7 separate regions of the Homo sapiens genome follow, and regions 2, 3, 4, 5, 6 and 7 are each linked to region 1. Evidence: promoter capture Hi-C in 16 types of primary human blood cells and fetal thymus (Javierre and others, 2016). All regions are on one chromosome and are shown on one strand. The core of a region is centred on a gene start or on the middle of the fragment in contact, and the rest is flanking DNA. Distances in the headings are between cores, read along the strand shown.

What was found. The method cuts DNA at HindIII sites, captures the fragments that hold promoters and counts their contacts. A CHiCAGO score of 5 or more calls a contact.
Region 2: a contact is called between a fragment that was not itself captured here and the fragment with the promoter of PRDX6 in region 1, in 1 of 17 cell types (monocytes). The highest score is 6.3, in monocytes.
Region 3: a contact is called between a fragment that was not itself captured here and the fragment with the promoter of PRDX6 in region 1, in 1 of 17 cell types (fetal thymus). The highest score is 7.0, in fetal thymus.
Region 4: a contact is called between a fragment that was not itself captured here and the fragment with the promoter of PRDX6 in region 1, in 4 of 17 cell types (naive CD4 T cells, naive B cells, total CD4 T cells and 1 more). The highest score is 6.6, in naive CD4 T cells.
Region 5: a contact is called between a fragment that was not itself captured here and the fragment with the promoter of PRDX6 in region 1, in 1 of 17 cell types (monocytes). The highest score is 6.0, in monocytes.
Region 6: a contact is called between a fragment that was not itself captured here and the fragment with the promoter of PRDX6 in region 1, in 2 of 17 cell types (total B cells and naive B cells). The highest score is 6.5, in total B cells.
Region 7: a fragment that was not itself captured here is called in contact with the fragment with the promoter of PRDX6 in region 1 in 4 of 17 cell types (neutrophils, fetal thymus, monocytes and 1 more); the score reaches 12.5 in neutrophils.

Annotation. Positions count from the first base shown.
Region 1 is chr1:173,475,782-173,478,727 of GRCh38, reverse strand. It overlaps PRDX6 (peroxiredoxin 6), which reads right to left and starts at 1,393. Exons shown (of 5, transcript NM_004905.3): 1 at 1,236-1,393. The coding sequence starts at 1,330. It overlaps LOC100506023 (a long non-coding RNA gene), which reads left to right and starts at 1,573. Exons shown (of 3, transcript NR_037845.1): 1 at 1,573-2,096. RefSeq lists enhancers at 1,195-1,354, 1,852-2,388 and a silencer at 1,425-1,594. The HindIII fragment of the contact is 1,817 bases long and covers 1-1,705 here.
Region 2 is chr1:172,721,705-172,724,650 of GRCh38, reverse strand. No RefSeq gene overlaps it. Among named protein-coding and RNA genes, the nearest start is that of FASLG, 64 kb to the right of the region's middle. The HindIII fragment of the contact is 6,552 bases long and covers 1-2,946 here.
Region 3 is chr1:174,218,594-174,221,539 of GRCh38, reverse strand. It overlaps RABGAP1L (RAB GTPase activating protein 1 like), which reads right to left. Exons shown (of 26, transcript NM_001366446.1): 2 at 2,245-2,415; 3 at 376-568. The coding sequence starts at 2,382. Among named protein-coding and RNA genes, the nearest start is that of RABGAP1L, 61 kb to the right of the region's middle. RefSeq lists a silencer at 936-1,055. The HindIII fragment of the contact is 2,217 bases long and covers 279-2,495 here.
Region 4 is chr1:172,737,921-172,740,866 of GRCh38, reverse strand. No RefSeq gene overlaps it. Among named protein-coding and RNA genes, the nearest start is that of FASLG, 80 kb to the right of the region's middle. The HindIII fragment of the contact is 5,998 bases long and covers 1-2,946 here.
Region 5 is chr1:172,767,430-172,770,375 of GRCh38, reverse strand. No RefSeq gene overlaps it. Among named protein-coding and RNA genes, the nearest start is that of FASLG, 110 kb to the right of the region's middle. The HindIII fragment of the contact is 4,412 bases long and covers 1-2,946 here.
Region 6 is chr1:172,815,050-172,817,995 of GRCh38, reverse strand. LOC107985225 (a long non-coding RNA gene) reads left to right here and starts at 299. Exons shown (of 3, transcript XR_001738297.2): 1 at 299-443; 2 at 649-782; 3 at 1,868-2,438. The HindIII fragment of the contact is 152 bases long and covers 1,330-1,481 here.
Region 7 is chr1:174,016,793-174,019,738 of GRCh38, reverse strand. The region is part of intron 1 of RC3H1 (ring finger and CCCH-type domains 1); the gene reads left to right. Among named protein-coding and RNA genes, the nearest start is that of RC3H1, 4.1 kb to the left of the region's middle. The HindIII fragment of the contact is 2,618 bases long and covers 209-2,826 here.

The DNA of each region.
Region 1 (2,946 bases), core at 144-2,643:
CACTGATTAATTTCATAAGCCTGTCTCCCTGGATACTGTATATAAAAAGGATATAATCTGGGGAAGAACTGTTGTCAAGCCTTGGAGCCCCACAGTGTAGTGGGACCACTAGTACTCCAGAACCATAATATAACTAGACATGCCTGGAATGCTTCTGATGAAAACTAAGCAACTTCCAGTTTGCTGATTCAGGAGCTGTTAAAAAAAAAAAAGGGCAACACCGATTTACTACTCCTATCCATAATGGTAAAACTGCCAAGTCAGATCACAGGTCATCAATTTGGCTATCATCAGCAAGCTCATGTGCTAGAAGCAAGGTAGAAAGCGGAGGGGACAGTGAGGGGCAAGCCACTGGAAAACAAGAGAGTCTCAAAGTTGGGGAGTACACGTGTCCTGGAGCCTGGAACGGCCATCACTAGCAAGAATAGGCCACTCCAGCGGAACAGCGTCAGAAAGTCCTTCCCTCCAAGTGTTGCAAGTTCTGGAATCTCTGAAGGCACACCTACGCAGAGTGTTCTTGGCTCTTCCTAAAGCTGTTATCAAATCATATCTTGGCCATTGGAGGCGGCTCTGGACAAAAAGTCTTTCGGCCACCTACTTGGCAGCTAGTGGTTTTAAATTTCACATTTTGTGCCCAGAAGCCTGCAAATACCACTGCACCCTCAGATGATACGTTGGCCTTCCTGTAACCTATAGCCAGCAGCTGTGTCCTCCGACTTTGGCTTTAGACACCCATCCTCCCCAGGGAGCAAATTCCAGAACGGAGGGTGGGAGGGCGGTGCGACCCTGGGCACTAGTCCGGGGAAGTGATCGTCAATGCCGCCCCGCCCCTGCGCCCTCGGCCTGACCACGCTACCTGCACAGTTTACTAAGACGAGTTAAATGGACAACAAACCCTCCCGCGGGCGGTGAGTTTCCAGAACCCGCAGAACACAATTTTATCCTCCCCACCCCCCACCTTGGCGTGGCCTTGCCCAGCCACGCCGGAGGCGGGGAGGCCAGGAGGGATCGAGTGGCCCGCGCAGGGCAGGCCGAACGGGTGCCAGCTCCCAGCAGCGCAGCCGACGCTGAGCAGAGGCCACACGGCCTGGCGCGCGCCGGAACCAGTGCGGGGGAAGGCGAGGGCGGCGCAGGGGGCTGAGCGGCCGGGAGGACGGCAGGGAGAAGAAACAGGGAAGGCACCTCCGAGTCCGGCGCAACCGAGGCCAGGACAGGGCTACGCGGTGGCCACTTACGAGTCTCCCAGAAAGTCGTGGAAACGGATGCGGCCGACGGTGGTATTGGCCTCAAAGTTGGGAGCCACGTCCCCGAGAAGCAGACCTCCGGGCATGGCGACGGTGATGAGGGGGCGCCGCTGGGACAGCAAGCAACCGGTTGGTTCTGGCGAAGAAGCAGCCTGTCCCAGCGCGCGGAGGAATAAACGAAGGCGCGAGGGGCGGGGACTGGGGCGGCGGGGGCGGGGCCGCGGGAGGCCGGCCGCTGGGGGCCGGGCCGCGGGGGCTGGGCTGGGCGCGGGGCGGGGCGGGGCTGGGCGCGGGGCGGGGCTGGGCCGGGCCGGGCTGGGGCCGGGACGCGGCGCGAGCTGGACTACCGCGGTCGCTGTTGGTGGCGCCGCCGGGCCTGCGACTAGGTGGCATCCTTCAGACACTATAGGCCGTCTCTGCACACGTGATGCGGGGCTCGGTCACGTTGCCCCCTGGAAGCTTGAGGATGCGCCAGGTTTGACTCTGCAGGGCGTACGCGCTTTAGGGATGGAAGGAAGAGGAACGCGGCAGGAAGGCGAGCCCCAAGGTGGAGAATCGCCTGGGCGCGCAGGCTGCGGCGGCTTCGCACAGCCGCCCTGGGCGCTGCACGGGTCCGCGCGCACCCTGCTGCGCACCCACTCGCGGCCAGCTCCCTACAGAGGAGTGGAGTGACTGCTCGACTACCACCCCTCTTTTAGTGTGAGCGTCTGGAGTCCTGACCGCCCCAGCCAGCCCAGCTACGATGAACTGTCTAAGAGGATGTGGCAAGACCCAGAAGTATGGGTGACCTTATGTCAGAGGAAGTGGCTTTCTTATTGCAGCAAAAATTCCCGTACCAATGTCAGTGCTAGGGTAATGTAACTAAACTTTTATTTATTTTTATTCTGCCCTCCCCTTTCTGTTTGTTATGAACCATAAAATATTCAACACAATTATCTTGAAATCTAAATATAAAATTTAAAACATACTCTTTGAGACCTACTGTGTGCAGGTCAACTCTGTCACCCAGGGAGGTGGGCGGCTTAGATTCATTTATTTGCTATGAGCCAAGTACAAGGTAGATAAGATGCCTGTCCTCTTGGAGCTTTCCTTCTTGTGAAGGGAAACCGGTGACAGACAATAAGCACACAAACCAAAATATGTTAGACAGCAATCAGTCGTATTCAGAGAACTAAAATAGGGTTATGTGCCTAGAGGGTGACTGGGGGGCTGCTTTGGTTTGGGTGGTCTGGTCTGGGAAAGCCACCAGGATAATGTAGGTAAACTAGTCAGCTCACGGTAGGTGCTCTGGAAATGGTAGCTATCGTTTGGATGATGACACTGGCTCATGCAGTAACTCTTGCTTTGCCTGCTGTGTGCTGGACACTGTGCCAGGCCATACAGTGGAGAAACACAGTCCCTGCTGTTACAGGGAAGGCATATTTATATGCAATTATAATAAAATGTAGGGTAAATTCTGATGGGGGAAGGTGTAAATGATTGGAGTTCAGAGATGAGAAAAATCCTCTGGATGGGGCTGGCAGGTTTAAGGCAGGGGCATGGCAATGTTGAGAGTAGTGACTCACATACTGTGATTTGCGTTTTCATCACAGTGATGTGTTGGTGCGTGCATGCTAATCATATTTACCGAGTTCTTCAGTGACCCAGGACTTGCAGTAAGATTACTGGTAAAAATTTCTAGCCACTTCACAAAACCGTTTAA
Region 2 (2,946 bases), core at 283-2,782, 750 kb after region 1:
TTCCCCAAAATATTTGCCATTACATCAAGAGTACAAAGGATTCTGATTTGAAACCCATGGAAGAAAACAAGGATGAAAGAGACTTGCACATCTTTTTCTTAATTGAAATATGCACAGTAAAGTAAAAACCTCACATAATTTCATCACATAAAAAGGACATAAATACTAAAAGAAGTTTCACTTTCATTCCCAGAATGCTTTGAGCCTACCCCACCCCTATTCATCTTAACCCCACCCCTCCCACTCCCAGAAAACTACAGTCATTTTGTTATATAACTTTAGAGACTTCTTTCTGTGATTATACACACACAAATACACAAATATTCTTTTTATTTTTTAATTTTTAAAATTTTTAGACATTTAGGGGGTACAAGCACAGATTTCTTACATGTATATATTGCTTAGTGGTGATGTCTGTTCTTTTAGTGTACCCATGACCTGAATAGTGAACATTGTACCCAATGGGTAATTTTTCAACTCTTACCATGTCCCTCCCACTCTCCCATTTTGTTATCTCCAATGTCTATTTTTCCATTCTCTATGTCCATGACATACACATATATTGTTCTTAAATGAGACTGTGCTATGCATATTGGACTGAAATTGCTAAAAGCATCTCATACTCATGCTTTCAGGTCACTATTTATGGGTCACCATACCAAAGCTCCTGGGAGATTTCCCTGTTATTTCAGAGTCCTGAAAATGAATACTGCTATATATAAAAAAACACTTTCTATAAGACTTCCTTAATCCTTTTCAGGAAGAGTAAAGTATCTCTTCAACTGTTTTCCTAAAACATGTGTGTTGCTTATATATTCACTGTATCCCTAATTACATTCTTTTAGTATAGGTGCCAGTTACTGGTAACAACAAAAAAATCAACCTCTGCCAGAATATTTAAAGAGGTTTATTCTGAGCCAATATGAGTGACTATGGCCTGGGGAAACTGTCTCAAGAGGTCCCGAGAAAGTGTGCCCAAGGCAGTTGGGTTAACGTTTGGGAGGGAGACAGAAATTGCATGTCAAAACATAAACGAATACATGGGAGTTGTACATTGAGTCTATTCAAAAAGGCAGGACATCTGGCAGTGAGAGCTTACAAGACACAGGTGAGTTTAGGGATTATTTAGTTGGCAATTGGTTGAAAGAGTTGAGCTTTGTCTAAAAACTTGGAGTCAGTAGAAAGGAATGCTTCAGTTAAGACAAGGGGGTCTGTTTTCTGTTACATGATGCCATACCAGAGTCTGGTTGCAAAAGTAAGCCACAATATACTGGGTCAAAAAAACTTGTTTAACATAATTTTATGTCTTGTAGATTTGACTCCCTGTGGGCCCTTAAAAAGAAATCTGAGAAAGTAAAAATGTCAGAGTTCAGTCCTTACCTGTTTTTTTCCACTAGACTGCAAAGTTCTTACTGAAAAAGGCCTTCCCTACTCTTGACACCTGGACTTCCAAGGGTCTGGAATAAGGCCAATCAAGCCACAATATCTGAAAGAACATGCGATGGGAAGTCAGATCTGAGATTTACGCTCTACCCTGCTAATAATTTGCACCTCATGTGGAGAAGTTCCAGCCCACCTGGATTGTCGCTTCTTCGTTTTTAAAATCTGTTTACATTCAAGGACTGGGATAAACTAGATGTCCTTTAAGGCCACTTCAAACTTTAACATGCGAAACACAAAACTGATGTCTGCAACATGGAATAGTAATAGCTAAAGAGAAAAATGCTTACTATCAAAATATTATTGTTGTCTGACACTAAAATACATATTTTGTGTATGAGACAGGGTCTTGCTGTGTTGCCCAGGCTAGAGTGCAGTGGCACGATCTCTGCTCGCTGCAGCCTCAACCTTCCAGGCTCAAGTGATCCTCCTGCCTCAGCCTCCTGAAGAGCTGGGACTACAGGAATGCACCACCATGCCTGGATAATTTTTGTATTTTTTATAGAGACAGTGCTTTGCCATATTGCCTAGACTGATCTCAAACTCCTGGGCTCAAGCAATCTGCCTGCCTTGGCCTTCCAAAGTGCTAGGATTACAGGTGTGTGCCACTGTGCCCTGCCTGTAAAATACACATTTTAGTCAGTAAAAGTTAGTTACATGTAACTATTCTTATTTGTATGTGAATAACTCTTAAATTCCCATCAGCAACATAGTTAGAAATTATTCCTTAGAGTAGGATATTTTACAGATGGCTTTGTGGCAGGCCAATTCTCCCTGACAATCACACAGACAGGCCTGCATGACAGTCACACAGACAGGCCTACATAGCACTCCAGTTACACAGACAAATTTCCATAGCACTGTCTTACCATTGAGCAAATAGTCAAACCTAGGGAAATCAATGCCCAGACATCAAAACTAGAAATGAAACATATGGTCAGTAGGAACCTTGCATGGGCTTCTCCCTAACCTGGAGCAAACCAAAATAATAGAGACAGTCTTACATTCCTACTGCCAGGACCCATCTTGCATTGACAAAATCTGAGACAAGTCAAGGTAACAGAGGCAGCTGTTTGAATAGATTCATCGGAGAGTCTAAGGCAGCTCTCCGGACCAAGCTGTAAAGGAGATGAGATAGAAATAATCACTCTGGTACCGCAGTAGACAGGCCTTGAAGGTACTGGGGCCCTTTTAATTGGACTTAGCAAGCAATTTTTGCCTCTGACCTTCTAGTTGAAACAGAATCAGTTACCAATAGACTTAGGCGAATGCTATACTGCACATAGGCACATAGCCCCAACCTATATAAGCGCTAAGAAAATTGTAACACTTTGAGTTGGTGGAATTACCTCCGGCCTTCTCTGTGTATCTGGTTACAGTGATAAATTCCCTTCTTTCCTAGTTTGTCTGCTTCTCATTATTGGGACTGGAGAAAACGCAGTCGGACCTGGCTTGGTTCCGGGAATAGCTTGGCAAACAAAATGTACTAATAATTGATTGATTTTC
Region 3 (2,946 bases), core at 138-2,637, 740 kb before region 1:
TTACTAAATATAACTTTAAATAAGTGTAGTGAAACTGAGCAAAAAGGCACATCACATGAAAGACTATCTCCATTACACTATTCTGTGACACCCAAGTATTTACTCATTTGTTCAGTAAGTATCTGTTGAGGACCTACCATGCATGAAGTACTAGGGGTAAAATGAGGACCCAGACATAGTCTTTGTTCCCAAAGAACATTAAGACCTGATTTTTATAGGCAGAGATATAGGCAGAAACATAACACCGAAGTGGAAACTCTCAACAAGAACTGAAAGCTTGAGAAGAGCTAACAATTTTTTCTGATTTTCATCTTAAAATTTTCACTATTACTTTATCCCATTTCTTTAATAGTTTCTAAGAATTCAATACAGTACCTGTGTTAGACGGATCCAAAATTAACTGAAGAGATGGCTTATTTGTTTGGCTGGCTGGAATATCTCCAAACGAATGGTCTGAAATCTCACTGGAACTTTGACAATCAACAAGAAGACTGCTTGGCCTTTTCTCGGAATCTCTCAAAATCTCTTCCATGGCTTTTTCCAATTGTTCATCACCATTAGAAACTATCTACAGACACAGCAAGACAATTCTGTTTCAATTCTACCATAGTTCTGAAGCTAAATTTTATGAAAGTATTTCATTTCTAGAAGAAATTAAAACAATCTAAATATTTAAATATAGTTACTAAAATACTAAGAAGTTGTTTCACATATATAATACATTAAAATCCTGGTTATAAAACTAAATTAGAGGAAGATTATTAGTTTCACAAAAGGATTCTTTATAAAACACTTAAGACAGTTTCCAACTACATTTTATATAAGATCCTATTTACAGAGATGTATTTATCTTTTTTTCCCCTTTCTTTTTAAAGACAGAGTCTCACTCTGTCACCCAGGCTGGAATGCAGCGGTGCAATCTCAGCTTATTGCAAACTTCGCCTCCTGGGTTCAAGCGATTCTCATGCCTCAGCCTCTCAAGTAGATGGGACTACAGGCGTGCACGACCACACCCAGCTAATTTTTGTATTTTTTGTAGAGACGGGATTTCCCCACATTGGCCAGGCTGGTCTTGAGCTCCTTACCTCAAGCAATCTGCCCACCTTGGCCTCCCAAAGTGCTGGGAGTACAGGCTATGAGCCACCACGCCTGGCCCTTCTTTTTCTTTTTCTTTTTTAGGAACACACCCTAAAAATCAGATAACCTTAAATTTACATGTCTAAAGGAAAAAATAGGTAAATTTAAATCGGGTCTATTATGAATATCATTTAAAAGGTTATATTTCTTGTTAGCACAGCATAACCATATTTCTGATTTCTTTACAAATTGTTGGCTAGCTCCCAAGATGAATATTGCTAATTTCCTTACACTTAAGTTGACTCATAGTTTTCTCAAAGGCAGGTGAAACACAAAGCCTAAGCAAATAAGTGATGTCTTAAACACAATAATGCTAAAATACAGGTATCTAAAAATAAAGCCACTGATTATTTAAATAAAATTATAAAACAATATATTCTCAACATAAACATTTAGTAATCTCATTTTCAGAATATATTTTATTAGACTGATATATTAATACACTTTTGATGCCATAGTTAATACTAAATAAAAGTCATAAGTAATATATAGCACTTTTAACTACTTTTCCTATTCCTGTTTCTAGAAGACAGTTATACCATTTTCAAGCCTATATAACTGAGTTTACTTGCTTCCTTTTCTTTGACTTAGAAAGTGCAACACAGAAGTGAAAAAGGGACCATATCTAAATAAAAACTCAAATGCTAAAAATATAAGATATGCTTTAAAAACATTTAGACAAGTCGACTGTTAAATCACACAACGGAACGTTACCAGCTGATTTAAAACATAAAAATCATAAAGAAAAAAGTCTCTCAAGTGAAAGCAAAACATTTAATTAACTTCTAAAACCCAGCAGTAAGAGAAACAAAAACATCCAGATAAAGTAATGTAAAATTTAACCATTATGTCTAATTCACCAAAAAATCCTTTCTCTTCTTTTTCTTCTTTTATTCTTCCCCCTAAAATTCCAAATCAAAAGGTAAACAACCAAAAGCAAGAACTTTTTAAAATACACAAACCAAATAATTAGGGTCTGGATAAATCAAACATTGATTTTATTTTGAAAGTCAGCACTTGAGAAAAACCTTTGCATTTTACACATCTCCTAAGTTTCAAATAGTTTTTAATTAAAAATTATACCATATGTAGAAAAGAAAAAAATACCTTCAGTTGAGGTTTTTCTTCATGTTTTGTAGAATTATCATCTGCATACTGAGGAACCAAAACAAATTCTTCACTGTTCATTGTAGCCACAGAATCAGATGATCCACTAACCTTCTGTAATGAAGCTCTGACCTCCATTTCAGTTCTGCAAACTTCTCTTCCCACAACCACCTGGAAAAACAAAAGGGATTAAAAAAAAAAACCTACTGATTAAAAACATGAACTAATTAAAAACATGAACTAATAAAGCTTTAAAAATGGTTTATGTGAAGAAGAATCCTGCTGGCTAGATAATTATCTCAAAGTTAGGGAGGCTACCTTCTTGGACTGAGCCACTTAATGGAAATGTACTCTCTCTTCATCCTAAGTTTCCAGACTAATAGAGCCATATTGTTACCTAAAAATTTACACAAACCAGTCCATATCTCAACCAGATTTATCACTGTTTACCTGACACACTCACTCTCATTTCTCTTAGAAATACTGTTTTCTTTTTAATAGAGGAAATAATTAAATGATACTAGAAATACCTACAAATGCACACACAGACACAAAACCATATTCACTGACACTGCTATATTAATTAAATCTAAATGCTTCAAAAAAAAACTTATCTCCTCAAGACCGAATATTGTACCTGCAAATATTTTTTCTGAGTAACTAAAGTTGACTAATACAGAATTCAACATCCTAAGACATATA
Region 4 (2,946 bases), core at 215-2,714, 740 kb after region 1:
AAATCATCAAATCACAAAAGAAGACTCAAAATAAGCAAAAAAAAAAAGAAAGAAAGAAAGAAAGAGAAATCTAACAAAATGGCAATAGGAAGTTCTTACCTACTGATAATTACCTTGAAAGTAAATAGATTAAATTCTCTAAGCAAAATAAATAGAGTGGTTGAATGGGGTGGTTTTGTTTGTCTGTTTGTTTGTTTTTGAAATGGAGTCTCGCTCTGTCACCCAGGCAGGAGGGCAGTGGCACAGTCTCAGCTCACTGCAACCTCTCCCTCCCAGGTTCAAGTGATTCTCCTGCCTCAGCCTCCCAAGTAGCTGGGACTACAGGTGCACACTACCACACCTGGCTAATATTTTGTATTTTTAGTAGAGACACATTTCCCCATGTTGGCCAGGCTGGTCTCAAACTCCTGACCTCAAGTGATCTGCCTGTCTCAGCTTCTCAAAGTGCTGAGATTACAGGGATGAGCCACCACACCTAGCCCTGAATGGATTTTTTTAAACCCTAACTATATGCTCTTTATAAGATACTTACTTCAGCTTCTAGGACATGTATAGACTGAAAGTGAAGGGATAGAAAAAGACATTCCATGAAAATGGAAAGGAAAAGATAGCAAATGTAGCTATACTTACGTCAAAATAGACTTTAAGTCAAAACTGTAAAAAGAAACAAAGAAGGCAATTTTTAATGACAAAGGAATCAATATATTAAGAAGATATAACAATTATAAATATATATGCAGGCGACATCAGAGTGCCTAAATACATAAAACACATACTAATAGATCTGAAGGGAGGAATAGACAGTAAAACAATAATAGTGGAGGACTTCAATACCTCACTTTCAACAATTAATAGATCATTCATACAATCAATGAGGAAATATTGGACTTAAACTACACTTTAGACCAAATGGACCTAACAGATGTATACAAAACACTCTCTCCAACAGAAGCATGTACACATTTGTCTTGAGTGCACATGAAACATTCTCTGGGATAGATCATATGTTAGGCCACAAAAGAAGTATTTAAATATGTTAGAAAATTGTAATCATACCAAGTATCTTCTCTGATCACAATGGTATGAAAATAGAAATTAATAACAGGAAAATTCAAAAATATGTGGAAGTTAAATAATGTGTTCCTGAACAGTTAATGGGTAAAGAAAAGAAATCAAAGGGGAAATTTTAAAATATCTTGAGACAAACAAAAATGGAAACAAACATACTAAAACTTAAGGGATGTAGCAAAAGCAGTTATAAGAGGGAAGTTCACGGTAGTTAATGCCTACATTAAAAAGAAAGAACTCAAGTAAACAACTTAATGTTACACTTCAAGGAACTAGAAAGAGAAGAACAAACTAAGCCCAAAGTTGATAGAAGAAAGATCCAAGCAGAAATAAGTGAAACAGAGACTAGAAAGCAATATAAAAGATCAATGAAACCAAAAGGTTTTTTTGAGAAGATTTTTAAAATTCAGCTACACTAAGAAAAAAAGAAAGAAAACTCAAATAAAATCAGTAATGAAAGAAGAGACGTTATGACAAATACCACAGAAATACAAAGGATTGTAAGAGACTACAAGAAACAATTATACACCAAAAAACTGAACAGTCTATAAGAAATGGATAAATCCTAAATATGTATGTGTATATATATATATATATATATATATATATATATATATATATATATATACATAAAACTTATCAAGTCTGAAACAAAAAGAAATAGAAAATCTGAACATACCAATAATGAGTAATAAGATTAAATCAGGAATCAAAAATCTCCCATCAAATTAAAGCCCAATAATAGATGGCCTCACTGGTGAATTCTATTAAGCATTGAAAGAGGAATGAATACCAATCATTCTCACTCTCCCAAAAAAATCGAAGAGGAGGGAAAACTTACAAAGGGATTTTTATGAGGCTAGTACTATCCTGATGCTAAAGTCAGACAAAGACACTACAAGAAAAGATTACAGGTCAATATTCCTGATGAACGTAAATGCAAAAATCCTCTGACAAAACAGCTACAAATTGAATTAAACAGCACATTAAAAGAATCCTACACTATAATCAAATGAGATTTATCCCTATGATGCAAGGATGGTTCAACAAATGTAAATCACTAAATGTGATGCACCACATTAACAGAATGAAGGATTACAATTGTATGATCATCTCAATAGATGCAGAAAAAGCATTTGAAAAAAAAATCAGTATGCTTCTATGACAAAAACTCCCAACAAATTGCGTTTAGCAATAATGTACTTCCACACGATAAGGTCATATATCACAAGCCTACAGCTAACATTCTATTCAATAGTGAAAAGTTGGAAGCCTTTCCTCTAGGATCAGGAACAAGATAAGGATACCAACTCCCACCACTTATATTCAACATTGTACTGGAAGTCCTAGGCAGAGAAATTATGAAAGAAAAAGAAATAAAAGCCATCTAAATCAGAAAAGAAGAAGTAAAATTGTCTCTCTTTGCAGATGACGTGGCCATATATAGAAAACTTTAAAGACTCCAAACACAAAAAAACTGTTAGAACTAACAAGTGAATTCACTAAAGTTACAAAACAGAAAATCGACATACAAAAATAAGTTGCATTTTTATACATTAACAATTAACTATTCAAAAAAGAAATTAAGAAAACAATTCAATTTACTATAGCATCAAAAAGAAGAAAATACTTAGGAATAAATTTAACCAGGGAGATGAAAGATCTGTATACTGAAAACTTTAAAACATTAATGAAAGGAGTGGAAGAAAAAGAAACCACAAATAAATGGAAAGATATCTTGTGTTTATGTATTATAGAATCAATATCAAAATGTTCATACTACCCAAAGTGATCTACAGATTCAATGTAATATTCCACCAGCAAAAAGATTATGACTTGCTGAAGGCATGGTATGCCTATAATATAAAGCATGGCAAA
Region 5 (2,946 bases), core at 267-2,766, 710 kb after region 1:
GTTGAGAAGTTGGCAGGACAGATTCTAAATGGCTTTATAGCCCAAAATAAGGAACTTGGATTTTATATCAGACTTCCTCAACCTCAGCACTATTGACATTTTAGATTGCAAAATGCTTTGGTGTTGGAGGTTGTACTATGCATTGTAGGATGTTTGGTGGCATCCTTGGCCTTTACCCACTGGACGCCTGTAGGAGACCTTGCTCCTTCCCCTAACTCCATTGTGACAAACAAAAATGTTTCTAGACATTGCTAAATGTTACCTGGAGGTAAAACTGCCTTTGTTTTGCAATCACTGCTCTGTAAGAAGCGGAAAGTCACTGAAAGGTTTTAAACAGGGGATAAAAATATTGGACTTATGTTTTCTGAATGCTACTATGATAAGAATGGGTTGGAAGAAATGAGGGTAGAAGTAGAGAGAGTTGGTAGTTTGAACTAGGGACTAGTTTAGTTCCAGAAAAGAAAGAATAAATAAAACAGAATGAAGAAATATGGAAGGTAGGGCTTGCTGATAGATTCTATGTGGGGGCAATGAAAAGGAAGGAAGGTTTGAGGGGAGGGCAGAGAGGTTGAGAAATCAACAGCTTTGTTTTAGACATGGTAAGTTTAAAATGACTGCTTGCCATTGCAGAAGAGGTGTCAATGAGAAGATGGATACATTAATTTGAAACTCTAAGGAGAGATCAGAACTGGAGATAAAAATTTGGGAATCAGCCTGTAGATAGTATTAAGCCACAAGCCTAATTGAGAAACATTTTGTGTACTCCATAAATATATATACTTACTATGTACTCACAAAAATTAAAATTAAAAAAAGACTAGATGAGATCATCTAGGGATACCATAATGACAGTGAAAAGAAGAGGCTATTTTTCTTTACCTATTTCTTCTTTAATGAATTACCAATATATATCCTGTGACCATTTTTTATTTGAGGATTTCATAATTTTGTATCATTTTGAGGATGATTTTAATATTAAGAATATTAACTGTCTAGCTAATATGGTAATCAAATCTAGTCATCCTTTCCTCTATGGATTCTGAATTTACTGCCATGCTCCAGAAATGTCCTACTTGTTACCCTAAGATTATAGGAATATTCATAATGCTGGAACTAAGATGGGCCTAATCACTTTCCCCAACTCTTCTCTGGGTTGTAACTAACTATTGAGTAAATCCACAGTGAGCTAAAAGGAGAGTAAATATATATTAATAAAAACTCAATAATTCCTGTAGTACAGAGCTCCCTGCTAAAACACTCAGCTTATAGCTGAAGCCAAAATAGAGCTTTCCTAAATCCAGAGTTGGGGAGTATATGGCCTACCAAGAAGATGACATGAGTTTTTACCCAACTAGCTGCCCCACAGGCTTATCAACAGTTGGACAGAAAGGCCAAGAAAGCCCAGCAGAGTAAGGCACCTCCAGGCCCGCTCCAACCTGAGCCAGCTGCAACTCTTCTACAAAAGGAAGAAGAGCTGAGAGTACACTGTCCTTACCTCTCCATGCTATGGTCAGTGCAGGAAAGAGAGTGTGAAGTCTGTTCCTGCTTTTAAAGCAAACCATACCTTCTAGGACACTGGACTCAACCTAGGGGATAACAGAGTGTTACCCATCAGGTTAACTACTCCTCCTCCCTTAGAGAATACCATGCAAGTGATCAAAAGAAACACAGAAACCCCCTCTCAGGAACTCCCTAGAAAGGATGGAAGGATAAATGGGACTTCCTTTTCATATGGGCTCAGAGAAATATGGGTGGGGAAGAAAAGAGTCTTCCCACTAGAATGCACCTAAATTTTTTGTTATTAATTTCAGAAAACATTACACTTTCAGGTTTTCTGCTAATAAACAACATGCAAATATCTTCACCCCATTCCTCAGCAAAGCTGATGCTGAATGACAGAATGGGGGAAGGTTTTGGACCATTTTGTGGTGGTCATTTCTCTGAACTAAGTGAAACAGTCTATTTATAAAGACTCTGCTACACGTGGCACAGGGCCTCATAATCTGCTTGAAGCATAAGCGACCTGGGCCTATTTTGTTCATCAGCAGCCAGAATAGCAGCAGCAGCAATAAACATCCATGGACTGTCTACTGGACATGGGGCACTGTGTGAGGTCCTGAAGGAAGAAAGGTATAAAGTTCTATCCTTATCTTCAACATCTGGTCAGGAGAACTACCCTTGCTGATAGAATTTTCTTTTCTAGGGAGTAGATTTTTTATACCAGAGAACCTACCAGACTTTACTACCATATGAAAAGGTTTAAGGAAGTTTTCTGAGTAATTATTTGGTACCCAGATATGCCTAAAAACCATAAGGTAGGCAGACTTCTAAAGATATCTCCCCGAGAGTTCCACACTCTGGCTATTCAATCAAACATTAGTATAGGTACCACTGTGAAGAGATGGTATTAGGGTTACTAATCAGCTGTCCTTAAAATAGAGAGGCTATCTTGGATTATCTGCGTAACTCCAATGCAATCACATAAATCCTTAAAAGCAGAAACTGAGACAGAAGACTCAGTCAGAGAGATGTGACAGAAGACGTAGGCAGAGGAGCGTTGAGGAAGAAAGGAAGGTCATGGAGAGATAAAGGATGAAAAGAACTCCAACTTCTGTTGCTAGGGGTGTGCATCAGAGAACGCAAGTGCTCTCCAGAAACTAGAACAACTCTGGACCAACAGCTAACAAGGAAATAAATCATTCAGTCCTACAATGGCATGGAACTGAATCTGGCCAAAATCTTGAGTGAGCCTGGAAGTCAGCTCATCCCCAGATGCTGGCATCTTTATTTCAACCTTGTGAGATTCAAAGCAGTTTCAGGTGCTGTGCCTGAACCTCTGAGCTACAGAACTGTGAGATAATAAATGGATGCTGTTTTCTGCTGCTAAATTTGAGGTAATTGGTACAGCATCAATAGAAAACTAATACAGCCCAAGAAAGTTATATC
Region 6 (2,946 bases), core at 156-2,655, 660 kb after region 1:
CTAGAGGAAAACAAAACATTCTATTTTCATGTTGTTCAGGTGCCTGGAGTACATATCTGGCACATAGTAAATTAAATATCTGTTAACAAGTATTTGTTGTTAAGTTGTTCATTTGTTTTATAAAGACAGGTTCTTGTGAGCAAGAACTGTCACCCATACTGGAATGCAGTGATGCGATCACAGCTCATTGTAACCTTGAACTCCTTTGCTCAAATGATCCTTTTGCCTCAGCATCCTGGATAGCTAGGACTATAGGTGAGCACCACCATGCCCAGCTAATGCTTTTTATCTTTTGCAGAATCAAAGGTCCTTGTATGTTAGGCTGGTCTCAAACTCCTGGCCTCAAGCGATCCTCCTACCTTGGCGTTCTAAAGGGATTACTGGTATAAGCTACTGCACCTGGCCTATTTGTTGTTAAATGAAAACATAGTCTTCCTTAGGAGGTAAGATGAGTGACAAATTACTTGAAAACTTGGTCAGGTGTTTCATATTTATGTAAATTGGTGAGATTAAAGGATGGGACCCATGAATGAGCTTCGGGAGGGGGGTGTCCAAAGTTTTTTGTCTTGTTATTTTCTGTGTGTTTTTAATGAACTCCTCATGTGCTATGAATCAGAAATCTATAGGTTGTATATGTTTTTCTTACAGGATATTCTCTCCCACAAGTACCTTGATGTGCATGAGTGTTAGAATACTACTACATTGTAGAATGAGGTGGGAAGAAAGTGAGATCCTTTGATAAAACAGAAATCTTAAAGAACTGTAATAAGAATTGACATCAGGTACTCAGTCTCTCTCCCTCGATAGTTCTTTACCTCACTTTATAACCTAACAAGTGTGTGCTTTTAGCTTCATTAAACACAGTCCAAGAGTCAAAGGCAAAGCCTCATCACTTTGCCTTTCTTGTCATCCTAACCCAGTAACTCTTTTTTTCTCTCAAGCTGCACCCATTTCCATCATTTGACCTTCTATAATTCCCTCAACCATTCCTTCAAAGCTCAGTACTAATACCCTTTTCTCCCTTATTCCCACTTTTTTCAAAGTTCCCATCTTTTTCTCCTACCCTGAAAATTCCCCACCCCGTTTGTTCATCCCTCTTTATTTCATGCACTTATTCTTACTCACCCGATTTGACCTTTGTATTTGCTTTTCTTGTGGGGTTACCCATATTTTTTACTTTCTCTTTTCCATTTTTGTCACACCTCCTGCCAAAAAACAAACAAACAAACAAACAAACAAACAAAAAACCTTTTCTCCTAGAATCCCACTTCCTTGCTCTTCTCTCTAGGTTATTCTTACCTTTCTGCTCCTCTTGAATTATATAAAGCTTGACTTCTACATTCTTACTTAGAAAGAAAATGTAATGATTCTTAAATGTCTATTACTTGTGTCCTTGGATTTTACCCCAGAACTTTTTCAGCTTCATCTAGAGTTTTTATAGATCAATATTGGCATATAACAGGACCTCCTTGTTTCAAGCTTCTTCCCCTCACATATTCACTATAGTAAAGGAAACCACATAAGCTTTAGCAAATTGGAAGGGACAAAGCTGACAAAACCATAGAACACTCAACTTGCTCTTCTTCTTCTTATTTCCTCCTTCTGTATAACTTCTCTCTGGCAAATTGTGTCGTATTATATCAACTTGCATATGATTGATTCTCATATTATTTTTGATTATAAATAGTCACATATTAGTGACTATTATAAAAGGCGATATTTCTTAATGATTAAGTAGAAGAAAAAAGAGATTAATAAGGGGGAGAAAAAACTATTACTTCTATCTAATAGTTAGTAAATGGTATTGAAAATTCTTAGGACATATATATTCTTTATGTCCTTTTGTTTCTCTCTCCTCTCCTTCTAGGACTCCCATGGTACATATATTGGTATGTGAAAAAATAATGGCAGAAAATGTCCCAAACTGATGAAAATCTTAATCTACACATCAAAAAAGCTCAACAACTCCAAGTAGAATAAGCTGAAAGAGGTACACACCTACACATGTATTAGTCAAACTGTCAAAGATAAAAATGAATCCCAAAAGCAGCCAGCAAAAATGATTCATCACATACAAGGGATCTGCAATGAAATGAACAGCTGACATATGATCTGAAACTAAGAAGGCCAAAAAAGTTGGATGACATATTTAAAGTGCTAAAAGAAAAAGAATCTCACACAAAAATTCTATATTGAGCAAAATTTTCTTTCAGAAGTGAAGGGGAGTTTAAGACATTCTCAGATAAACAAAAACTGAGAAAATTTACTGCTAGCAGATCTCCCTCACAAGAAATAGTATAGGGAATTCTTCAGGCAAAATTAAACAACACTAGAGAGTAACTTGAATCCACACAAAGAAATAAAGAGCATAAGTAAAGTTAAGTACATGGTGAAATTGAGTTTGATATTGTCCAGTCTGAGGAACAAAAAGAAAAAAAAGCGTGAAGAAAAATAAACAGTTTAAGAGTCCTAGGGATCTGGTGAGAGGTAATTGAATCATGGGGTAGTTCTTCCATGCTATTGTCATGACAGTGATTAAGTTCTCATGAGATCTGATGGTTTTATAAGGGCTTCTCCCTTCACTCAGCTTTCATACTTCTCCATGCTGCCGCCATGTGAAGAAGGATGTGTTTGCTTTCCCTTCCACCATGATTGTAAGTTCCCTGAGGCCTCCCCAGCCATGTTGAACTGTGAGTCAATTAAACCTCTTTCCTTTACAAATTTCCCAGTCTCAGGTATGTCTTAACTAGCAGTGTTAGAACAGACTAATACAGTAAATTGGTACCACAGAGAGTGGGGTGCTGCTGTAAAGAAACCCAAAAATGTGGAAGTGACTTTGGATCTGGGCAGAGGTTGAAACAGTTTGGAGGCTCAGAAGCAGAAAGAAAAATGTGAAAATGTTTGGAGCTCCCTAGACTTGTTGAATGGCTTTGACCAAAATACTGA
Region 7 (2,946 bases), core at 268-2,767, 540 kb before region 1:
ATACTTATTACTTAAGTTCACATTTTCTCAGGTAATAAAAATTTACTTCTAAGAAGTTTTGGAACCAGAGCTTAAGAATTAGATTTATATTTTCTTGGTAATATTAAAAGTTAATATATGCTTGATTTATTTGAAGAAATAAAAAAGGGTAATTTGTACACAACGCCTTTCAGAACATATTTGTTGAATGAATAAAAATATTTAAGCTTCCTCATTATGCTGCAGTATTAGTTCTGTTGTCCTCATTTTTTCATATGAAGAATGTGAAGCTAAGAGTAGCTATGTAACCAGCAAAAAGATCACATAATTAATAGGTAAAAGAGCTTACTCAGACTCAGATCTTGTGACACAAATTAGATTCTTTGCCACTACCACATGTGTCACAGTTAAACTTTGAAGCATCTTCTGTGTTGACAGATTCCTTTTTTTGCCTGTGAACTTACCCTATTATCATTATTTGTATCCTGTCAGATATCTACTTGTAAGACCAAGAAAGTATTTGTTCATGTGAATCACAAAAGAAACACTTAAATTTTTGTTTTTAGCATATCTGAATGCTATAAAATATAAAAACTCATACTGTTTACATAGGACAGATTTATCATACTGCTGTAATTGTTTTCATGGTTAATTTGTTACATAGGCAATTACTAAATTGTGCCTTTGAAATACTTTATAAATTTTTTTAAATAATTAAAGATATTCAATGATGTTAAAGTTGGGTCAGCTAATATTTGAAGTTCTTAATTTATAATTTTTTTTCTTTAAGCCATAGATAATTTAGAATTCTGCAGTATTTTTCATCTCCAGATCTTAGGGCTTGAAATGGATTCTGATGGGTCTAATCAGTCCACTCTTGCATATATCTTGAAAATGGTCAGCATCCAACAAAGTGAAGAATAAACTGATAAATGATCCCTGTTTGGTGAACACCTCAGATCAGGATGTTCCTTGGCAGGGTATTCTGACCTGGTTTAGCTTTGGCCCCGTCTGTGCTCAGGGTTCAGGTATTCTGCAGGATTGGGTTCAGAGGGATTAAAATTCTCAGATTGGCCTGTATCAAAACAGTCACAGATTTTGGTCAGCCTTTTCCCAGAACCGTCTCCAAGATTTTTTCTTTTGTGTAATTCTGGAATCTAGGCTGGATTTGGACTAGCTTTAGAGGTTATGATAAAAGATTAATTTTGTCAGGCATTTATACAAAGGAGGTTTTCTTACTACAGAGTTTCTTAAGGTAGATTCCTTCTATTTTTGAAGTGTGACATTTACCAATCTGAAGTAATGTTGCCCTACATCCCCCAGACACTTAACTTTAGCATATTTATTTCTGTCCATTTTTGGTCAGGATTGTGCCTGTTTACTTATATAATATTCTTGTTTACTTTTTGTTTATTAGATACTTCTTATTAGTTTATATTGTTTTCCTGATTGAGGCTTGGGGAAAGAATTTTCCTCAAATTTAAAGTCACCTTACTTATTTGCAGATGTATGTCAGAGCAATATTCTTTTGACAGTTATCAAGCATTTTAGCAATGCTGTATGTATATATTATGAATGAATGACAGAGTCACTCATGGTCTGTCACCCAGGCTGGAGTGCAGTGGCATTATCATAGCTCACTTCAGCCTCAAACTCCTTGGTTTAAGTGTTATTCCCGCCTTACCTGGCTACTTTTTTTAATTTTTATTATTTTTATAGAGATAGCATTTTGCTGTGTTGCCCAGGGTGGTCTCAAACTCCTGGGAGCAAGGTGATCCTCCCACTTCTGCCTCCCAAAGTGCTGAGATTACAGGCATAACAATGTTTTAAACTGACACTGGTATACCTTCACTGATTATTACTGTGCACATGTGGTAATAATTTAACTTATAAGTGCATTTTATCTAAAAAATTTCCAAGATCTAAATAGCATTTGAACATGGTAGCAGTTTTTTTTTTTTTTTTTTTTTTTTTTTGAGCAAGAAAAGAGTTCTAAAGGGGTCAGTTTTATCTACAGATTAACATAATTTTTTTTATTGAGGTTAAGTCACATAACATTAACCATTTTAAAGTAAACAGTTTAGGTGGCACTTTATACATTCACAATGTTGTTCAACCACCAGCTCTAATTCCAGAATGTGTTCATTACCCCAAAAGGAAACACTGTACCCATTAAGCAGTTACTCTGTATTCCCCTCTTCCCTAATCCCTAGCAAACGCCATTCTGCTTTCTGTCTCTAATTTGAGCCAACATCGAGGAAGAGTACTCTGTACAATTGAAATTGCAGAAAAAACTTTGGGATGTGATTGTTAGGAATAAAAAACCACCTAATTCTTTGCATGCTTCTCTAAGTACAGTAGACATGCTGCCAGGGACTCTTTATGGAAGAAAAGTTGAGACTCATAGAAGTTTGCAGTTTTGTTTTGATCACCCCAGAGGGTTTTGCTCAAACTCTTAGACTCATTTGTATTTCTTCATTGGGTTATAAGAACTAAAATTTAATGTTCTATACAAATGTGAACAACTAATACTTGGTCTCCTATCTAGAACTTGTTTGCCTTTTAGGTTTTCTTAATGTATAGAAGAAACTAGGAATATTCACAAAGGATTTATTTGAAGTTACACTGGGAAACGATTTTTAGAATTTGAAGCTCTTTGATCCCTGTGAATCTAACTTTATGACTATTTTATTCAGCTAATCTTTGAGAATATTTAGAGTTTTGATTTGCGTGGCACTCTGCTTTTAATCCCTTGTTGAATAAGTGTTAGAAACCTTGATCTTGGCCCTATACCTGATCACCTCTAAAAACATGAACAGTGTTACAAAGGCAGTTGTTTAGTAAGCTTTTTTGGATTGTTTTAATTGGCTGACTGAGGGAGACAAAATTAGTTTTTTTTTTTCTTTCTAGAATAAAGGGTAATAAACTTGGACTTTAGAGTTACTGCTAAGATTGACATTTCCATTT